Regions from separate parts of the Homo sapiens genome. Here all the other regions are linked to region 2. Evidence: promoter capture Hi-C in 16 types of primary human blood cells and fetal thymus (Javierre and others, 2016). All regions are on one chromosome and are shown on one strand. Each heading gives the region's core, a stretch centred on a gene start or on the middle of the fragment in contact. The rest is flanking DNA. Distances are from core to core; before and after follow the strand shown.

The links. Contacts are between HindIII fragments. The CHiCAGO score rates a contact against its expected background, and 5 or more counts as called.
Region 1: a fragment that was not itself captured here is called in contact with the fragment with the promoter of ZMYND11 in region 2 in 1 of 17 cell types (total B cells); the score reaches 6.4 in total B cells.
Region 3: a fragment that was not itself captured here is called in contact with the fragment with the promoter of ZMYND11 in region 2 in 2 of 17 cell types (fetal thymus and total B cells); the score reaches 9.1 in fetal thymus.

What each region holds. Positions count from the first base shown.
Region 1 is chr10:1,053,115-1,057,312 of GRCh38, reverse strand. It overlaps WDR37 (WD repeat domain 37), which reads right to left and starts at 928. Exons shown (of 14, transcript NM_014023.4): 1 at 345-928. It also overlaps a transcript of IDI1 not described here. RefSeq lists enhancers at 211-270, 371-430, 1,231-1,280 and silencers at 531-960, 1,391-1,450. The HindIII fragment of the contact is 856 bases long and covers 951-1,806 here.
Region 2 is chr10:134,185-138,712 of GRCh38, reverse strand. ZMYND11 (zinc finger MYND-type containing 11) reads right to left here and starts at 3,258. Exons shown (of 15, transcript NM_001370100.5): 1 at 3,154-3,258. RefSeq lists silencers at 3,831-4,009, 2,457-4,016. The HindIII fragment of the contact is 13,901 bases long and covers 1-4,528 here.
Region 3 is chr10:926,146-930,498 of GRCh38, reverse strand. All of the region lies in intron 1 of LARP4B (La ribonucleoprotein 4B), which reads left to right. Among named protein-coding and RNA genes, the nearest start is that of LARP4B, 3.4 kb to the left of the region's middle. The HindIII fragment of the contact is 2,258 bases long and covers 613-2,870 here.

The DNA.
Region 1 (4,198 bases), core at 129-2,628, 920 kb before region 2:
CGACTCTTCCTGGACTCCGACATCTTCTGCACCGCCCCGGGCCCCCATCCCTCCCGCACCCTGGTCCCTCTGGCACCGCCACGGACTACTCCTGCGCCCCGACTTCTCTTGCACCCTGAACCCTTCTGCACCACGGCCCTTCCTGCACCGCCACGGGTCCTCCAGGGACCCGACCCCTCCTGCACCACCACGGACCCTCTGCATTCCAAGCCCACCTGCACCCCATCCGCCACTATGCCCCGACTGCCCCTGCACCCCCTTGAGCCCTGCAGTGTCCCGACTCCTCTTCGGGGCATCCGGGGAACGACTCGGCGCCTGACAGGTAGGAAGATGGCGGCACTCACCTGTCACAGCAGCTGCGCCCGCCACCCCCGGAGCCAGCCCAGGTCGCGCACCGCCAGTGAGTCCCTACGACGCGGCCCCCCGTACTGACCCGAAGACGCGCAGGACACCGCTGTCTCCGCACTGACGCGACCCCACAACCCCAACCTGGCGCTAATGCACTTCCGGTGTCGCCGGAAGTCCCGCCCCAGTCCCGCGCCGCTGGGTTCTCCGGAAGCCGCCCCACACCTCCGCCCCACACCCGGCGGCGCCGGAAGTCACGCCCCGGCTTCCGCCCCGCAGCCCCGAGGGGTCTGGGCGCGCTGAAGACCCCTTCGGCTGCTGGGCCAACGCCCCCACCCTTGGTCACGTACTCCTGCCGCCGAGCGGTTCGCGGGAGGTGGCCTCGGGGGTCGTAGCTACTCACCGGCGGGGCGCTCCGAGTCCATCTGCCCCGTAGCCCGGCAGCCGGGGCGGGAGGGCTGCGAGCCCGGGGCGCGGTCCGCCTGAGGCCTGAGACCCGGGGCCGCCTGCGCTCAGGGCCGCGGTGCCGGCCGCGCGGGAGCCTGGCGGGGACGGCGCGGTCAGTGTTCGGCTCCTCCGCAGTGACTCACCAGCGTCCTGAAGCTTTTGATCACCATTGGCTGGGAAGGAAAAACAGAATCAGCTGTTCCCTGCGAAAGGTGGGACTTGGGCCGCTTTTTTCTTAGAATCTAGGTTGGAAACGTCGCATGATGGTCTTTACGTAAACAGCCGTCTCAACGCTCTACAGAAAGCGCTAACCGCGCATTTGAAGCCCACCTAGAGTAAATCAAGAGCGTGAAAGCATTTTTTTTTTCTGTGTAGGTTAACATTCCTGCTCCTTCCTTTAAAAAGGAAGCTCAAGGCCAGGCGCGGTGGCTCACGCCTGTAATCCCAACACTTTGGGAGGCCGAGGCCGACGTATCACGAGATTAGGAGGTCGAGACCAGCCTGGCCAACATGGTGAAACCCTGTCTTTACTAAAAATACAAAAACTAGCCGGGCGTGGCGGCGCGCGCCTGTAACCCCTGCTACTCGGAAGGCTGAGGCAGGAGAATCGCTTGAACCCGGGAGGCGGAGGTTGCAGTGAGCCGAGATCGCGCCTCTGCACTCCAGCCTGGGACAGAGCGAGCCTCCGTCTCCAAAAAAAAATAAGGAAGCTCAAGATGAAGAGTCAGAAGTGGTAACTTGTTTGTTGCACAAGAAACAAATTTAGCATTCTATTTAGGGGATCCAGATTACCAAAAAAAAAAAAGAAGTGAAGTTATTTCTGCATTAAGTATATTAATAAAACTTTATCACTAAAAACAATTCTGTAAGAGGAACGCCAAGGAAAAAAATATTTGAGTTTTTAGAGAAGTCATTTTTTAAACTTTTAGAGGTTGTGACATTTAAGTAACATAATTTTATTTAGTACCTAGTATGCAAAGACATTGTACTGGGCATGGCAGCAAATAGAAAGCTTTGTAAATCGCAGTGTCCCATCTAATTAACCCGCATTCTAACAGGTGGTTTTATTTTTCTGGACCGCACCACAGTCAGGTAACACCAAGAATATCGCTAATGTAATTTTTTAAGTTGATATATTTAGGATTCCATAAAAGTCACTGAAAATAACTGAGAGCATGACATGTCACAAAACAAGGGAAAGAAATCATTTTGAGGATCAGTCGCTTTACATCTTTTGTAACTAATTTAATCCCCAAAGGAATCCAATAAAGTAAAAGTTATTCTAAATTGAATTTTAAGCATGAGAATGTGGAAATTACTCGTCAAAAGTCAAAAATAATCGTGCAGCAGGGCAAAGACTAAAGGCTGGCATCAGAATCCATATTCTTTTCACTGTTGATGTGCTAGGGCTGCAGGAACAAAATACTGCAAACTAGGCAGCTTAAACAAATTTATTGTCAGAGGTCTGACTGGAAGTCCCAAATCAAGGTATTGGCAGGGTTGATTCCTTCTGAGAGCTGTGATGGGAGCCTGTTAATGCATCTCAGCGTCTAGGCATTCCTTGGCTTGTGGCAGCATGCCCCCGCCAGTCTTCACATGACGTTTTCCATGTCCGTGTCTGTCTGCACACTTAGCGTTCTTTTTATGAGGACATCAGTCATATTGGAGTACAGTAGACGCTACTTTAATATGACCTCATGTTAACTAATCATATCCACAACAACCCTGTTTCCAAATAAGGTCACATTATAAAATACTGGAAGTGAGGTCTTTAACACATGAATTTGAAAGGGGGACACAATTTAACCCATAACACACTGTATCCTGAAATAACTATCCAATGTAATTTTTTTAAAAGACACAAAACTAGCCGAAATTATAAAAGGTTATGATTGCAATCCTGGTATCCAGTTACATTCTCCCTCCTGCAGAAGCTGTGGAGAATCCTGTCTCAGAAAACCAATTTCTATTTTGTCACATGTCCATCTATGCAAAATACATGTACTTTGTCCCTGACATAGGGCAACAATGCTGAATTTACTAAGACTCATTTTTGCGCATGGTTTGATAGGGAATTAAGATTTACTAGGTATTCTGTCATTGTCCTCATTACTGATTATTTTAACTGTGTCTCAAACACTTGGATAGTACACTATAGTGTTATAAGCTGTTTGACATGTCGCTTCCTAAATTCTCAAGTTATATATATGTGTGTATATATGTCATGTAACAGGCACAACTGTTTTCATGTGTATCACTTTATTGCACTTCACAGGTATCATATGTTTCTTACAAAGTGGAGGTTTGTGGCAGCCCTGCATGGAGCAAGTCTGTCAGCACCATCTTTCTAACAGTATGTGCTCACTTCATGTCTCTCTCACATTTTGGTAATTCTTGGAATGTTTCCGTTATTAAATCAGTTATAGTGATCTGTGATTAGTGATCTTTGATATTACTGTCATAATTGCTTGGGGGGCACCATGAACCACCCCTATATAAGACAGCAAACTGAGTCGATAAATGTTTTATGTGTTCTGACCACTGCACTGACCAGCTGCCTCCCTATCTCTCTCCTTCTGCTCAGACCTCCCTATCCTTGAGACACAGCAATACTGAAATTAGGGGCCAGGCATGGTGGTGGCTCATGCCTGTAGTCCCAGCTACTTGGGAGACTGAAGCAGGAGGATTGCTTGAGCCTAGGAGTTCGAGGCTGCAGTGAGCTGTGATCACGCCACTGCACTTCAGCATGGGCAGCAAAGCAAGACCCTGACTCAAAAAAAAAAAAAAATCAGGCAATTAATAGCCCTAAAATGGCTACTGTTTCATAAAAGAATGAGTTGCACATCTCTTACTTTAAATCAAAACTAGAAATGATTAATGATTAAGCATGGTGAGGAAGGCATGTTGAAACAGCTAAGTCGTGAATGCAAAGGAAAAGTTCTTGAAGGAAATTTGAAGTGCTCCTACAGTGAATACACAAATGGTAAGAAAATAAAACAGCTTTATTGCTGATATGGAGAAACTCTGAGTGGTCTGTATAGATTAAACCAGCCACAATATTCTGATAAAGCCTAATCCAGAGTAAGGCCCTAACTCTCTTCAGTTTTCTGAAGGCTGAGAGAGGTAAGGAAGCTACAGAAGAAAAATCTGAAGCTATCAGAGGTTGGTTCATGAGGTTGAAGGAAAGAAGCTGTCTCTATAATACAAAAGTGCAAGATAGGCCAGGCATGGTGGCTTATGCCTGTAATTCCAGCACTTTGGGAGGCCAATGCAAGTGGATCCCTTGAGGTGAGGAGTTCAAGACCAGCCTGGCCAACATGGTGAAACCCTGCCTCCACTAAAAATACAAAAATTAACTGGGTGTGGTGGCACACGCCTGTAGTCCCAGCTACTCAGGAGGCTAAGG
Region 2 (4,528 bases), core at 2,009-4,508:
ATGTAGAATTCAACTGAAGGACAAGAAAGTTACCAAAAATCTGATACCAGAGGGTTAGGGCTTTAAGTAAGCAATTTACAGCAACATTTGATACTTTTATAGCAAGTATTAAAATTCTTAGTTAGGTCCAAGTAGTGTCTCAATTAAGGTATGCCAAAGAGTATGAATGCCTCTATTATACACTACTGTAACAACCCTAAGAAGAAAAAACTCAGAGGGTTACCGAAGGATGAGAGTCCAAATAAACATATGTCATTCATTGAAACATGCATGACATCCATTCAAAACGCCAACAGGGCCGGGTGCGGTGGCTCACATCTGTAATCTCAGCACTTTGGGAGGCCAAGGCAGGTGGATCATTTGAGGCCAGGAGTCTGAGACCTGGCCAACATGGCAAACCACCCCCACCCCGGCCCCCTACTAAAAATACAAAAAATTATCCAGGTGTGGTGGCACATGCCTGTAGTACGAGCTACCCGGGAGGCTGAGGCATGAGAATCGCTTAAGCCTGGGAGGCAGGGGTTGCAGTAAGCCGAGATCACACCACTGCACTCCAGCCTGAGCGACAGAGCAAGACTCCATCTCAAAAAAAAAAAAAAAAACGCCAACAGAATGGTATTCAGTATGAATGAAAGAACTAAATTTTAACATTTTAATTGATTTCTTTTTGTGAAGCTGGAAGCTCGTACATGTACATTTATTTAAACACCTCACAAATGGTAATTGCAAAAATAAATTGTCCAATTTAGAGACTGTAAAAGGAAGAGTTGGTTTTCATATGAGCAATCTCTATGGGGGAAAAGCACCATGTGAAATACAGAAATCCTTTAAGTAACAGAGTCAAGCAAGACAAATATTTTGATTCTGTCATAATCACATCCCATATCCTCTGATCTCTGATTCTCTAGCCTGGTCATCTTATAAAGATGAGTCAACCAAAAATAACAACTATAATGTAACCTGTGCCAGTTAGTCAAAGACAAGGCAAATTAAATGCCTCTACAGACATTCATATTTTTTCTCCTGCTTGTAAAAAGACATTCAGAAAAACTACAAAGATGACCCTGCCTACCAGAAAGCACTCTAACTTTTCAACTTTCAAAGTACAACCAACACTATCTCCCTGATAACATCCAACCATTAATTAAAATCAACCTCAAAAATCTGAAAACGTTGTGCACACCATAATTACTAAGCTAAAATTACTATATTTCTCAGTTTACAGGAAAACAAGTAAACATTTACTTTCTGCTTTTGGACAAACAGATTAAATTATTTTTAAGAATGTTCTTGCCTCCATATGACTCAGCTTACTGTGGGATGCAGAACACCTAAGTGAGGAGGACCAAGGGCTCTAGACCTCCCTAAAAACCCAACCTGCACCACTCCCTCCTACCAGCAGGGTCCTGAATGGGCCACCTGGGTATCTCCTCCAGGCTCACATTCTTGACACCAGATACCATGTACACACTGTATATGACCCAGGGTACTAGATACCCTGAATATGACAGTGGGTACTGTGTACACAGTACATATGACACTCGGTACTAGGTACACACTGCATCTGACACTGAGTACAGCTTATGTGACAAGGATAGTGCATGCATGGTGCATATGACATTGGGTACCATATATGCATGGCATATGACATTGGGTACTACCTACACACCATATATAACACTATGTAATGTATACATACTGTACATGCCACCAGATATATATACAAAACATAGATAACACCAGGTAGTGTATATACACTGTATATGACACCAGATACTATATACCTAACGTATATGACATTGAATACTGCATACACACCGCATATGGCAGCACGGTACCGTGCACATACTGCACAAAATACCGGGAACCGCGTAAGGGCTGTATATGACACTGGGTGCTGCATACACAGTGTGAAAGGATACTATGTACACACCATATATGACCCCAAGTACTGTGTGCACACAGTATATGACACCTGGTACTATACACACCGCATATATGACACCAGGTACTACATACACACTGTATGTGACAACAGGTAAGGTAAATATATTCAATACTATCCAGATACTACATACACTCGTATATAACATGGAGTACCACACGCACAGCTCATATGGCAGCAGGGTACCAGGCACCTACTGCACACAATACCGGGGGCTGAGTGCACAGCCTAAGCGAGGAAGATACATGTACACACCGTGTATGATAGCCGGTACGACACCGGGTACTTCGAGCACACTGCATATGACACAGAGTACACACCATATATAATCCCCGGTACTGCGTACCCACCGCATAGGACACCGCACTGCACAACGAGCACTGGTACACACGAATAAAACAGGTACGGCGGTCACTCTGCAAAAGACACCGGGCACGGCGCACACATCGCCAGCTCCTCCTCCTCCCGGCTCGGGAGAAAAGCGCGAGGAGAGACTGCAAGTGAAAGTCCGGGTCCCGGCGCCCCCCCTCGTCCCAGCCGCGTCCTCAGCAGCTTCTCCCCGGAGCTCTGGGTGGGAGGAGGGCGGCGGACCCCACAGGACTGTCCCGGAGGTCCGCGAGGACCTGTTGAGGCGGCGGCCTCGCTGCCGGGGTCGCTCACAGCCCCGGGGGACCGACGAATCTCCGCCCCGGGCCTCGGGGCCAGCCCTGCCCGCCGCTCCCGGGCTAGCACACGACGTGCCGCGCCGACAAACGCTTCCTCTCCGCCCGCCACACGCCCGGAGCCGCGTTCCCCGCCGGCCCGGACTGCGCACGGGCCCAGGAGGCCTGACCGAAAGCGGGGCACAGGGCCCGGCGGGCGGTGCTCACGCGACTCCGCGGCTTCCCGGCCCGAGCAGGCCCCGCGCGGTCCTCCGGGGCCTCATCCCGGGGCCTCTTCCGCGGCCGCCCAAGGCGAGTGGGCGCGGGCCGGCAGCCTCCGCAGGCCCCGCCGCCGCCCTCGCAGGCCCCGCCGGCCCGGCCCGCCCCGCCATCCACAAAGCTCCCCGGCAGCTCGGAGCTCTTCGCGAGCGGGCGAGCGACCGTCAGCACCCACTGGTGCCGCCGCCGCCCCAGAGGCCGCGGCCAGGCAGGCTCCACCGCGCGGGCCGCGCCATCTCCACGGACGCCCCCGCCCGCCCCGCCGCCCCGCCGCCGAGCTTTCCCCACCATTATGCTCCGGCTCCTCCACCGCCGCCGCCGCCGCGCCCGGCCCTCCCCTCCGGTGCCGCCTCCTTCCCGCCGCCCGGCGCCTCTCGGGCCTGAGCCGGCGACGGGCGCGGGGGGCGGGGGGGACGCTCAGGCCGCCTCCTCCTCCTCCCTGCCGGCCTCCTCCCTCCTCCCCGGCTCCCCCCCGCCCGGACCCCGCCGCCGGCTCCGCGCGAAGGGCTCCGGGCTCGAGGGGCGCCATGTTTGTAATACTCCACCTCAGAGAACGCCGCGGTCGCGCCTGAGCGAGGGAGGCTAGGCGGCCGGGTCGCCGCGTGCGGGGTGAGGGCCGGGAGGGCACCGCCGCCCGCACTTACTCGCGTCTTCCCCTGGCGCCGCGGGCCTGCGGGGCCGGAGCGGGCGGCGGGAAGTTGGGCGCCGCCGCCCGGGAAAGTTGGGTCCCCGCGAAGCCGCGGCAGCCGCTCACATGGCGATGCGCGCGGGGCGGCCGCTCGGCCCCACCGGCCCCTCGGCCCGCCCGCCCTCGGAGTTTATTGTGTCGGGTCGAGGCGCCCCGCGGCCGGGCCGCGCACTGGGGGCTCTAGCGGCTGGCGCCGGACTTGCGCGCGGCCGGCCCGGCTCGCGGCCGCCTCCCGCCCGGGGCCGGAGCCGTGCACGCGGCTCCTACCTTCCCCACGTCCTGTCTTCGGCGCCTCTATCCGAAATTTGTTGGAGCATATTCCTCTGTCTCCACACATGCACTCCGTATCCACACACACGTGAAGGCTACGTACGTGCAGGCGCGCTGGAGCCGGGAGCGGGCGCCGAGGCCGGGGCGCGAGGGGGCATTGTCAGGCGCCGCCGCAGCTCAGCCCCGGGTGGACCCGGTGCCTGCCCCTGGCTCGCGGGGTCCGGAACAGCGAAGTCTGAGAAGTACGAGTGCTTCTCTTAACAACATTGTTTAGGTAGTCTGAACAGCCCTTTACTCCTGTCATCAAAAAGAGCGGTAGGGATACGCTAAGTTCCCCGTTTCATCTCTGCGCAAACAGGACCGCGAAAAGAACAGGACCACCCATCAGCAGCCCTGCAAGAACACTGCAGATTTGCGCGAGAAGTAGGTTATCTTCTATGGAGAGGAATTCTAGACCTAATCAGAGACGATCCCTTAAGACTCTGGTTTAAGAAAGGTTCGGAGATAAGCATACTTTGATAGCGTTCACCTGTTTTCCCTGAGGACCTTTCGCCACTGGGAGTCGGGGAACACCTGTCAGTCAGAGTCCTCTGCTCTGAAATTCGGTGAGTACAGGACAGCAAGGTGTTTTCAGGGAGACCGCATTCTCATAACTTTTACTACAGTATAGTGTTATAATTGTTCTGGTTTATTATTAGTGTTGTT
Region 3 (4,353 bases), core at 492-2,991, 790 kb before region 2:
GGCTGAGATGAAACTTGAGAAACCTAGCTGTAGAAAACTACCTCCTATCTGGCTTTCGTTTGAGATTCTCTAAGTGGATGCCCAATAACTTGTCTTAATAGTAAATTGGAAGTTTGAAGTTTTGGATAACTGAGAAAACAGGAAGGTTTTCCTTGACAGGGCAGTGGAGTTTGTAAGTATAAACAGTATGCGTGAGGCCTTTTTCTAGAGATGAGAGCAACTCCAAGGTGAACATTGAAGGGGACAGACAAGTTATTTTCCCTTTCGAAAGTTTTTTTCTCTTAGTTTCAGTTGTTTGAATATTTAAATGCACTTGAAATAGGTGCTGAGTTGTAGTTTGTGAAGACCACAGTGGGGAAGAGTGGTGTCCTCTTTTTTCTTGGTGGTCAGGTGGTGTGTGCAGTGTGCAATTTCCATACTTCCCCAACCTGCCTGGCGCCCCTCATTACAGTCAGGGTAATTTACAGAAGTTGAAATCGTTGTGGCTTTTCAGTTTTTTCTCCTTGTATTTAATATGCTGAAAGGCAGTTTTGTAATCAAACCATATAAGAAATAGCTTAATTGAGGTTTGCTAAGTGAAATGCGTTCCGAAAGGCATCAGATTAACAAGCTTATTATTTAATCATAAATTTAATTTGTGTACTTATCTTTGAAACTTGCATTGGTTAGAAATAAATTTTATCCGGTATTTTGAAAAGTTAATGTGAGTTGAGTTGACTTATTTATATGAAACAAAGGCATGGCTTATTCATTAGAAGTTACCCTCGTGTTGCCTACATTTTCTCAATTGTAACAGGGGGATGATGATAATCTCATTTTCTTAGGACTGTTGTAACACAAACATGGAAATGTTGTCTGGTTTTGCTATTTTCACTATTACTGATTTTTTTCTTCCCCCCCCGAGTTGGAGTCTTGTTCTGTCACCCAGGATGGAGTGCAGTGACACGATCTCAACTCACTACAACCTCCACCTCCTAGGTCTTCAAGTTATTCTCCTGCCTCAGCCCCCCGAGTAGCTGGGATTTACAGGCACATGCCACCACACCTGGCTAATTTTTGTATTTTTAGTAGAGACGGGGTTTCAGCATGTTGCCCAGGCTGGTCTCGAACTCCTGGCCTCAAGTGATCCACCTGCCTTGGCCTCTCAAAGTGTTGGGATTACAGGAGTGAGCCACTGCGCCCAGCTTACTGAATTTTTAAAATATTCTACCTTGTAGCTGTCAATCTATTAGCAGAAAGTTTTGTTTTTGTTTTTGTTTTTTTGTTTTGTTTTTTTTGGCTTGTTTACACATGTATCTGGGCAGAGAAAACAGCTTCTGAGCACAGAATGCATATTTGGAGAAAGCAGTTCCACTCTTTTTGAGTAGGAACCAGACAGAAAAAAAGATAACATGGGTACTATTCTGTAGAAGAGTAGCTGAAATTAAGTGGCAGCAAATTCAGGGAGAAATGTAATTTGGTTTAATGTTCGGGAAGATTGCCATTTTTAAAAGTGAGATTTAAAGAATTTATTGAATTTAATGCAATTTCCATAAGTAAGCACAAGTTTTGACAAGTATATATTTAAGGTGTTTTTATGAAGCAGTCTTCACATTATCTTAAAATGTAGTTCTAAAATACGTGCAGGCTGGGTGAGGTGGCTCATTCCTGTAATCCCAGCACTTTGGGAGGCCTAGGTGAGTTTAGGAGCCCAGGAGTTCACCAGCCTGGGCAACATAGAGAGACCTCATCTCTACCAAAAAATCAAAAAATTAGCCAGGCATGGTGGCTCACACCTGTAGTCCAGCTGTTGGAGAAGCTGAAGTGGGAAGATCGCTTGAGCTTGGGAGGTTGAGGCTGCAGTGAGCCATGATCCTGCCACTGCACTCCATCCTGGACAACAGTGAGACCTTGTCTCCCCCCACCCCCAAAACATGCAAATTGGGACATCAAATTGTTAATGGTGTTTACAATGAACAGTGCCTTCAGGTAGCTGCAGCTACTCTACATAGATTTGCAAGTTTTTGTAGTGATAGGCTATGGTAGATGTTACCAGCCAAGGAGTGGCTGACAAACTCCTTTCACTGTTATTTCATTGTCATGTTAAAATTCATATTTTCCGTCAAAATAGTGATAGCTAGGATTATAATCTAGGTCTTCTAATCTTAGTAACGTGTTGTCTATGTTAGGGCCTCTCAAAGTTGTAAAAAAGCTGTATAGATGTGTTACCATCAATCGATTTCATTTGTTTTTATCCTAGTGTTAAAGGTACAAGTTTTTTTTTTTTTTTCTTTCCTGAGGCGGACTTTCACTCTTGTCGCCCAAGCTGGAGTGCAATGGTGCGTTCTTGGCTCACTGCATCCTCCGCCTCTCGGGTTCAGGTGATTCTCCTGCCTCAGCCTCCCGAGTAGCTGGGATTACAGGTGCCCTCCACCACACCTGGCTAATTTTTTTTTTTTTTGTATTTTTAGTAGAGTTGGGATTTCACCATGTTGGCCAGGCTGGTCTTGAACTCCTGACCGCAGGTGATTCGCCCGCCTCGGCCTCCCAAAGTGCTGGGATTGCAGGCGTGAGCCACGGCGTACCTGGCCAAAGGTACAAGTTTTAAATATGCTTTTATCATGCATACAGTACTCTTATAGATTCTGTCAGATTTAGGGATATTCTTTTCAGATTGATAAATTGCACAAAAATCTTGGAGTATATTCTTGTAATTTCTTCTACAAAATTCTCAAAACAACCTTTTTCCAATGGGGAGAAGACATGAACACTGAAGTCATGTTTTTGGAAAATACCTTGTTAAAAACAGACACTGCTGTAAGGGTTTCCTTGCTTATGCTCTTTTGTAGAACTTTATTGATGTGAAGAGTTCTCCTTTTTCTGTAAAAGCTTATTTTAGAGTACGAAGTAAATGAGGCACTCAGAGAGTTAACCTCATCAGGTCTGAGTTTAGTTCAGTTTAAACTTTTTGCTCTTATGCTGGTTGATATCTTTGTAACTACTCTACTTCTAGAGTTATTTTGATTGGAAAATGAATTCCTTTTTTAGAACATGGAATTGTAAGGTAGAAAACTGCTAGGTTCTCAAAAGAAGGGAGATAAATTCCAACTTGAAAGTTTTTTCCCCTAACGTTCTAATGCTTTGTTTTTCCTGTGTGTAAATGCCTTCCTTAGGAACAAGGAAAATTATTAACTCAGCTGTGTTTCCTTCCCTTCTCTTTCTCACTGCCCCCCCGCCACCCCATACCTTAATACCTTTTGTCCCTTCAATGCCTTTATAAACTCTGTCTTCTCATAGTTTTTCTGGTGAAGCTGTCATGGCTCCTATTTCAACCATAAAGGATTTGCAGTTCAGTGATGCTACTGGTTTTACATCTTCTTTCCCATCAACCCCATTGCCCTGGTTAGGAGACCTAGACCATGGAGTACATTGCAATATTGAAAGTATTTCATGTTTAACACAATTTTTTTTTTTTTTTTTGAGACCGAGTCTCGTTCTGTTGCCCAGGCTGGAGCGCACTGGCACGATCACGGCTCACTGCAACCTCTGCCTCCAGGGTTTAAGCGATTCCCCTGCCTCAGCCTCCTGAGTAGCTGGGACTACATACAGGTGCGTGCCACCACGCCCGGCTAATTTTTGTACTTTAGTACAAATTGGGTTTCACTGTGTTGGCCAGGCTGGTCTTGAACTTCTGACCTCAAGTGACCCATCTGCCTTGGCCTCCCAGAGTGCTGGGATTACAGGCGTGAGCCACTGCGCCCGGCCATGTTTAACACAAATTTGAAAGCGTACTGCTTAGTTTTTTAGGGGGAGTATGATAATCATAGAGATGAGACTTGATCTTTGCTGAAAGTGTTCTTTATGAAGTCTGATGTGCATAAATTTGCCCAATAAAATGCTCTTTTATTTACACAAATCATTTTAGTCGCACTGTAGCCAGAGTGTGGCATAGCCTGATGGCTGGCCTCTTTTCAGAAACTCATCAGGACTGCCCTAGGCCTCGCCCTGTGTGTGCTTCCACTTCTGTGTCTTCCTTCTTGCCCTGCCCCACCTTTTAATCAGGACCACGCCTCCCTCTCCTACCTTGGTGTTGCAAACGTTGTAGCCATTGCTGTTGGTAGATTCTTTGACTGAAATTGAATGTCCACCTCCTTTAAAAAAATTTTTAAAATATTTACTTAGCTCCTTAAACCATCCTTAAAAAGATATTTTAGGAGTCCTCCAGACTGCTTTGCATTAACTTCTGAGATTATGCTTCTCTGTTTCTGTAGCAACTAAGTGTACCTTTGTGTTACTTAGCACATAATTAATGTAAGCTCCTTGTGAGTGAGATTCTCTTTTTATGCTTGTCACCTCTGCCCAGCCCAGGGACTG